Regions from separate parts of the Homo sapiens genome. Here region 2 is linked to region 1. The links are contacts of gene promoters, found by promoter capture Hi-C in blood cells and fetal thymus (Javierre and others, 2016). All regions are on one chromosome and are shown on one strand. Each heading gives the region's core, a stretch centred on a gene start or on the middle of the fragment in contact. The rest is flanking DNA. Distances are from core to core; before and after follow the strand shown.

What was found. The method cuts DNA at HindIII sites, captures the fragments that hold promoters and counts their contacts. A CHiCAGO score of 5 or more calls a contact.
Region 2: a contact is called between the fragment with the promoter of MED17 here and the fragment with the promoter of TMEM126A in region 1, in 4 of 17 cell types (total CD8 T cells, naive CD4 T cells, non-activated CD4 T cells and 1 more). The highest score is 7.3, in total CD8 T cells.

Annotation. Positions count from the first base shown.
Region 1 is chr11:85,646,054-85,649,665 of GRCh38, forward strand. It overlaps TMEM126A (transmembrane protein 126A), which reads left to right and starts at 1,914. Exons shown (of 5, transcript NM_032273.4): 1 at 1,914-2,036. RefSeq lists enhancers at 1,675-1,724, 1,895-2,164. The HindIII fragment of the contact is 2,186 bases long and covers 1,835-3,612 here.
Region 2 is chr11:93,782,638-93,786,249 of GRCh38, forward strand. MED17 (mediator complex subunit 17) reads left to right here and starts at 1,645. Exons shown (of 12, transcript NM_004268.5): 1 at 1,645-2,126. The coding sequence starts at 1,877. RefSeq lists enhancers at 1,466-1,760, 1,702-1,921 and silencers at 2,052-2,181, 2,183-2,377. The HindIII fragment of the contact is 2,360 bases long and covers 287-2,646 here.

The sequences.
Region 1 (3,612 bases), core at 664-3,163:
TTTTTTTTTTTTAACTTTTCAACCTTATTGGCCATTATTCTCTACAAGATGGTGGTTTATAGTTTCTACATAATTAGGAAACACAGACAGTTACAGAGAAGGCCTAGTGAAATTCCATTAAGGCAAAGGTAGTAAGCAGAATATTGTGATTTGTTTGCTTAAAACCTTGAGATGAAAAGCAAAGTGAGTAAAAGACTAGATGACCAGGCACGCTGGTTCACGCCTGTAATCCCTGCACTTTGGGAGACCGAGGCGGGTGGATCACCTGAGGTCAGGAGTTCGAGACCAGCCTGGCTAACGTGGTGAAATCCTGTCTTTACTAAAAAATAAGCCGAGGCTGGGCACGGTGGCTCACGCCTGTTATCCCAGCACTTTGGGAGGCCGAGGCGGGTGGATCACGAGGTCAGGAGATAGAGACCATCCCGGCTAACACAGTGAAACCCCGTCTCTACTAGAAATACAAAAAAATTAGCCAGGCGTGGTGGCAGGAGCCTGTAGTCCCAGCTACTTGGGAGGCTGAGGCAGGAGAATGCTGTGAACCCAGGAGGCGGGGCTTGCAGTGAGCCGAAATCACACCACTACACTCCAGCCTGGGTGACAGAACGAGACTCAGTCTCAAAAACAAAAAAAAAAATCAGCTGATCAGCTGGGCGTGGTGGCACACGCCTGTAATCCCAGCTACTCTGGAGGCTGAAGCAGGAGAATCGCTTGAACCTGGAAGGCAGAAGTTGCAATGAGCTGAGATCAGGCCATTGCACTCCAGCCTGGCCGACGAGAGCAAAACTCTGTCTAAAAAATAAAAAATAAAAATAAAAAAAAGACTAGGAATTTTCCTTCTTGTACACCTTCGTGAAAATAAGTCTTTCTATTTGTGCAAGTTTAGAAACTGCAATTACAGACTTCTTGGCACTATGGAGCCTAATGGTCAAGCAACCCTGCAATGGAGAGACAGTATAAAAATTATCTGGACAATGCAACACTTTATCACTTGTTCAGAAATTTGAGAGGATGAGAATAATTAAGATTTCTGATAATGTGTTATGATCATGTATTTATTGCTACAGTTAGTTATATATTTTTTGGCACAATGTTTACCTGCTAATCTTAATGGAGTTAAGATAAAATTCAATTGTAGGCATTTTTCCCTTCTATTGGGTTAATTAGTCCAAGCGAACTGAGCAAAGGTTGCAGGGAGCCCCAGCATGGCTGAGGAAGACCTGGTGAGGCATCCACTGGCTGCTGGGAGGAGAGCATTAGAGGTACCTTCTGAACAGCACTGTCCAATAGAAATATAATGCAAGCCACATATATAATTCTAAATTTTCTAGTATTTATACTTAAAAAGCAAGAAGAAATAAGATGACTTTCACCCAACACTGCTTCCAAATAAGCAGTACTCTGGAGAACACGAGAAATCCTCAGAAAAATAAGCTGCAGCTCTGAGGTGCTGATTATGGTAGGGCAATCAATACAGATCAAAACATGGCACAGGGAGCTTAAGTTCCTAGGGAGAGTAGAAAATCGATAGAGCCAAGAAATAGCTCACCTTTGACTTATTTTTAACCTGAGTAGCTATCATATGCCAAGAGCTGTGCAGTTTTCATTTACCCCATGCCAAGAACGTAAGTAGGCTCTACTGACCAGGAAGTTAAGTAATATGCCCGAGGTACGTTTTCAATGGAAGAGGCTGACTGAGGGTCACCCAACTTATATCTCGAAATTTCACAATTTCTACAAGTTCTGTCCTGGGAGGCAAGAGTAGGTGAAACGAGCACACTCTACGCCAGGCAAACAAACCTCAACGCTTAGCCTCCCGGCACCTCCTAGGGCCGGAAGCTTCTCAGCCCAAAGCCGCTGCTGGCTGCAACCTCCGTCCCGCAGTCCAATTAGCAGCCGCGACCCGGCGCCCGCCCACGCCGCGTCACGAGTCAGCCAAAGATGGCTGCGCCCAGGTAATTTGAGCAAAGGCCACAGTGAACTCCGGCGTGGCTGAGGAAGGAGGAGGCACCCACAGGCTGCTGGGAGGAGAGCATAAGGTACTGGTATTCCGGGGGAGGGGGTGAAGTAAATGTCCCGGTGTCAGGAGAAGCACGACGCGGTGACACGCTAGCTACCAGCAGCGCTGCGCGTAAATGAGAGCAAGTAGAAGTGTAGTTAGCTCTTCCTGCTGTCTTTTCACTTTGCACTCTAGAAGGAAAGACCTTATATTTAAATTAACTCAGTAGAAAGGAGAAATGCCTGAGATTGAATTTAATCCCAGGTTTACTGTCAATTTACAAGGTGACCACGGCCAAATTTGATTTTCAGAGGTCCCACTTTACTTCTCTTTCAGATAGGCCCCACACTGCCTATCTCTCAGAGCTCTTCCAAGAATGACATGAGATAGGTAACACAAAAATCTTTCGAAATATTTGTAGTTTTTACAGGCGGCGTTGTCTTTGATAGATATTTGTTATTAATATCGGAGACAAAATGCCCACAGGGGCTGCCCAGTCAGCACTTATACTGAATTGAGTGACTTAATTGCCCTCAGTACAATATATACATACTAAATTTGATTATATATTTCACCACCCCATACACAAAATCATTCAGAGCTCCTGTACAGCAGAGATTGTGTCTTATCATCTTATCGTAGCCAAGGCCCTCAAAAATTTGACTACCAGAAACCTAGACATAAATTTCTAAGGCTGCTTTGTACTTATTAGGTTAGCTTTAAGTCTAGAGATATGGAATGTCAAGGTAATCAACATTTCCAAATGACCTCTTATCGATATAAAACAGGTAGCAATAAATATTTAAACGAGTGCCTGTAATGTTGTAGGAAATGAGAAAATCTGGTTTCATAAAAGCATGTTTTCCTTTGTTGTTATCCCTGAACTGTTTTTTTTTTTTTTTTTGTAGACCGAGTCTCGCTCTCACCCAGGCTGGAGTGCAGTGGCGAGATCTCGGCACACTGCAACCTCCACCTCCCAGGTTCAAGCGATTCTCCTGCCTCAGCCTCCCGAGTAGCTGGGATTACAGGCAGCTGCCGCCGTGCCTGGCTAATTTTTGTATTTTTAAAAGACAGGGAGTTTCACCATGTTGGCCAGGCTGGTCTCGAACTCCTGACCTCAGGTGATCCGTCTGCCTTGGCCTCCCAAGGTGCTGGGATTACAGGCGTGAGCCACTGCATCCAGCCTTTGTTTTTCTTAACTGTTACCCTGAAACCTGAGCCAAATCTTCATCATTCACCATTCCCTTCACATTTTCACCCTAACTAGTGCAGACATCAACAAACTACTGGCATGTAGGCCATATGCAGCCTATAGCTTGCCTTGGTACAGCCACCCAGCTAAGAATGATTTTTATGTTTTTATAGTTTTTTTAAAAACAAATATTCAACAAAGGCTGTATGTTACCTGCAAAGCCTACCACATTTACATCTGGCCCTTTAAAGTTTGCTGAGCCCTGATCTCAGGTATACCTAGAAATGAAATTGCTAGCTATGTGTGTCTTCTATCTGCTAAATAATACCAAATTCTTTCCCAAAGTGACTGTACAGTTTGGGTAAAGCTACCCCACAGAATGTACACAGAATGTAGTTTTAGCTACCCCGCATTCTTGCCAATA
Region 2 (3,612 bases), core at 395-2,894, 8.1 Mb after region 1:
TACCCAAAAGATAGCTACATAAGTATTCCATTATTAAACAATAGTTATTCTTATGGAAAAGGCCATTATTACAAAACCGTATGGCTTTTGACATACTCACCGAAGCCCAGGGAGGAACTTGCATTATCATAAAAACTGTGTGTTATGTCTGTATCCCAGATGAATCAGATAATATCACTACGTTAATGGATAATATGAAAACCTTAACAACTAACCTTTCAGATCCAACACATCTTTAAACAACTGGCTAAGCAGCTAGTTTTGATCTTGAAGACTTGGTGGCAAAAGCTTTGCTTATTCTAGGAATCATAATCATTTGTTGTTGTCTTGTTTTTGTCTGCACTATTAGACTGCCACTGCGCCTGGCTATTAATCAGATTTTAAAATAAAGTTAAAAAAAATTTTTAAACAAATTTACACGAAAAGCAAGTACAGTGGTTCTCGAACATGATTGGGCGACAGACTGTACAGCTTGCCAGAAATAGGTTTCTCTCATGAAAATTCAACCCCCTCCACACACGGCCATCTACTTTCTTCTTCAGCAGGGACTGACACCAGGGCAACCGTATTTTCCTAAATACCTTAGGAAAGTAGTTCAAAACCTAGATATATCTTGGTCAGAACAAAACCTGGCAAACACTCATGATAAACGGTATATATAATTCCTTAAACGAAATATAGAGGTTTGTAATATAAAATAATCCATCTTTGTCTGTGGAATTCCTACTAATGAAATACGTTCTTGGAGACCCAAAGACTGAAGTTATACCACTTCTTCTTAATCTTTTAAATATTATTTGCAGGCCAGGCATGGTGACACGCTCCTATAGTCCCAGCTCCTCAGGAGGCTAAGGCAGGAGCATCGTTGGAGCCCAGGAGCTCCAGGCTGTAGCGTGCTGACAGCACTTGTGAATAACCTCTGCACTCAGCCTGGGCAACATAGTGGGACCCCATCACTAATAAAAAAGCGAGATCAACATTATTTATTCTGTTACTCGGGCATAAAATAAATATTAAGCACTTACTACATGCCAGAGTCTATTATGTCTGCTGCAGATATTGGCTGTCATAGAGTTATAACTAACAGGAAACCAAATAATTACGTAGTATAATTTTAAGTGGTGATAAGCACGATTGTTTCCCCCAAGCCATGCCCTTAATTTCTAACTCTTCAGATAGTGTTTCTTTAAAAAATTTCTTGCTAATTTAAAATAACTTTTGTTTTGAGGCAGGATCCCACTCTGTTGCTTAGGCTGGAATGCAGCGGTGAGATCTCGGCTCACTGCAGCCTCCATCTCCAGGGCTCAAGCCATTCTCCCGCCTCAGCCACCCGCGTAGCTGGACCACAGGCGCGCGCCACCAGATCTCAGTTCTCTCAACAGGACTCTCATTGCTAAGATCCAAGGATCCATTAATTTCCTTTTCCTTAACTCTTCTAGCCTCTGCAGCTTTCTTTCCTCATCCACTTTTTAAACAAACGCAGGCTTAAAAAGCAAGGAATATACCCGCCACACTCTCGGCTCCCAAACCGCTCTTTCCCTCCCTCTGCCGGCCACGCCTCTTATAGGCCCGGAAGTTTACCCCACCCTGCACCGTGATTCACCGGAAGCGCTCTAGGGAACCCTGGAGCTTCCGCGCCTGCCCAGTTTTGCTCCGAAAGACTTACCGAGGAGGGAGCTTGCGGTGCGTTCTGGGAAAGTTGCTGGGCCAGCTCCTTTGTTTCCAGTCTGAGCGTTGCGTTCGGTTTCCCGAGGGTCTTCTGAGGCACCGCGGCTGCGGGCTTCTGAGTTCCCGGCTCTCCGCAGGGAAGCCTCCTCTTCGTACCTCGTTTTTTGGCTCGTGGGGGGTCCTCCCACCGCTGGCCGACGCAGCCAGCATGTCCGGGGTGCGCGCAGTGCGGATCAGCATCGAATCGGCCTGCGAGAAGCAGGTCCATGAGGTGGGCCTGGATGGCACCGAGACGTACCTGCCCCCGCTGTCCATGTCGCAGAATCTGGCGCGTCTGGCCCAGCGGATAGACTTCAGCCAGGGTTCGGGCTCCGAGGAGGAGGAGGCGGCGGGGACCGAGGGCGACGCGCAGGAGTGGCCGGGCGCCGGGTCCAGCGCAGACCAGGACGACGAGGAAGGTAAGGCCTGCATCCGCTGCCCGAGTCCCCCGGTCTGGGTCCCAGCACCCGCGCGGGCCTCCGCCTCTCCCGCGATGGGGGTGATCTTGTGCGTGCGAGAACTTTTGAGTGTCCCTCTAGCGGAAGCGTAAGGATACTTGGTCGTCATCTTTTTGTTGCTGCCGGACAAGGTAGGACACGACTTTACGTAATACTCCTGCGGGTCTCCTTGAATGGCAGCGTTTAGAGACACTGTCAAACCGTGAAATGTTTAAATGAATGCTTCTCTGTAGAGGGCCTTTAATGTAGCACACTTAGTGGCTAAAAGAGCCCTAGATCGGGGCTCTGCCCCTTGCCGGCTGTGTGACCTTGGGCGAGTTACTTTGCATCCTTGTGCGGTGTGAATGATGATAGTAGCACCTGCAGAAAAGAGGTCTGTTTTGACTGAAATGTGTGACGAGGTCCAAGAGGTAGGCGGGTCCAGATCATGTAGAACCCAGTAGGCCGGGATAAGCGTTTGACTAGTGTTAAGACCACTGAAAGCTTTTGCAGGATAAGTAGAGATGGTTTTGTTAAAGTTTACTCTAGATGCTTTCTAATAAATGAATTATAGGGAAAGCAAAACTGGAAGGGAGGAGACTAGGAGGGAAGTGAAGAAATAATGAGTGGGTTTCAGATTCTCATTATTGTCAAGGATTTTTGAAAAAAAAATCAAAATTCTTAATTTAGTTATGCAGCACACCCAGTGTAAATGGGAATTTAAAGATGTCATTTCAGGGCAGTGCTGTTAGGATTATTAGGGGTCTATTTGCAAAAAAAGGTAAATACTACTTTATACCTCACACAAAAATTATTTCCACAGTAATTTTTGAGGATTGAAGTGCCAAATGAAGAAAGTAAAACAAAGTGTTAGAAGAAATAATGAAAGAATAGTTGTATTATTCTGGGAGTCGGATAGATCTTCTTAATTTCGGAAATAACAGGACAGGCATGGTGGCTCACACCTGTAGTTCCAACATTTTTGGAGGCCAAGGTGGAAGGATCACTTGAGCCCAGACTTCAAGACCAGCCTGAGCAACATAGGGAGCTCCTGCCTCTACAAATTAAAAAAATTAGCTGGGCGTGGTGGTGCACGTCTGTGGTCCCAGCTACTGGGGAGGCTGAGGGAGGAGGATGGATTCAGCCAGTGAGATCAAGGCTGCAGTGAGCTATGATTGTGCCACCGCACTCCAGCCTGGGTAACAGAACAAGACTCTAACATCCACACACACAACCACACACCTACCTACCTTACAAAGTATAGATATATTACTTACATAAAATTTAAAAATAATGGGAAAAGATGCCATAAGCAAAGTAAAAAGATAAATGACAGACTGGGAGAAGTTCTACACATATAACACAAATTTAGTTGATATCTTCTCTATTCAAAAAGTCCCTTCAGACTGAAAAGAAAATAATGACACTTTGGAAAAATAGGCCAAAGGTATCTGAAGGCTCATAGAGG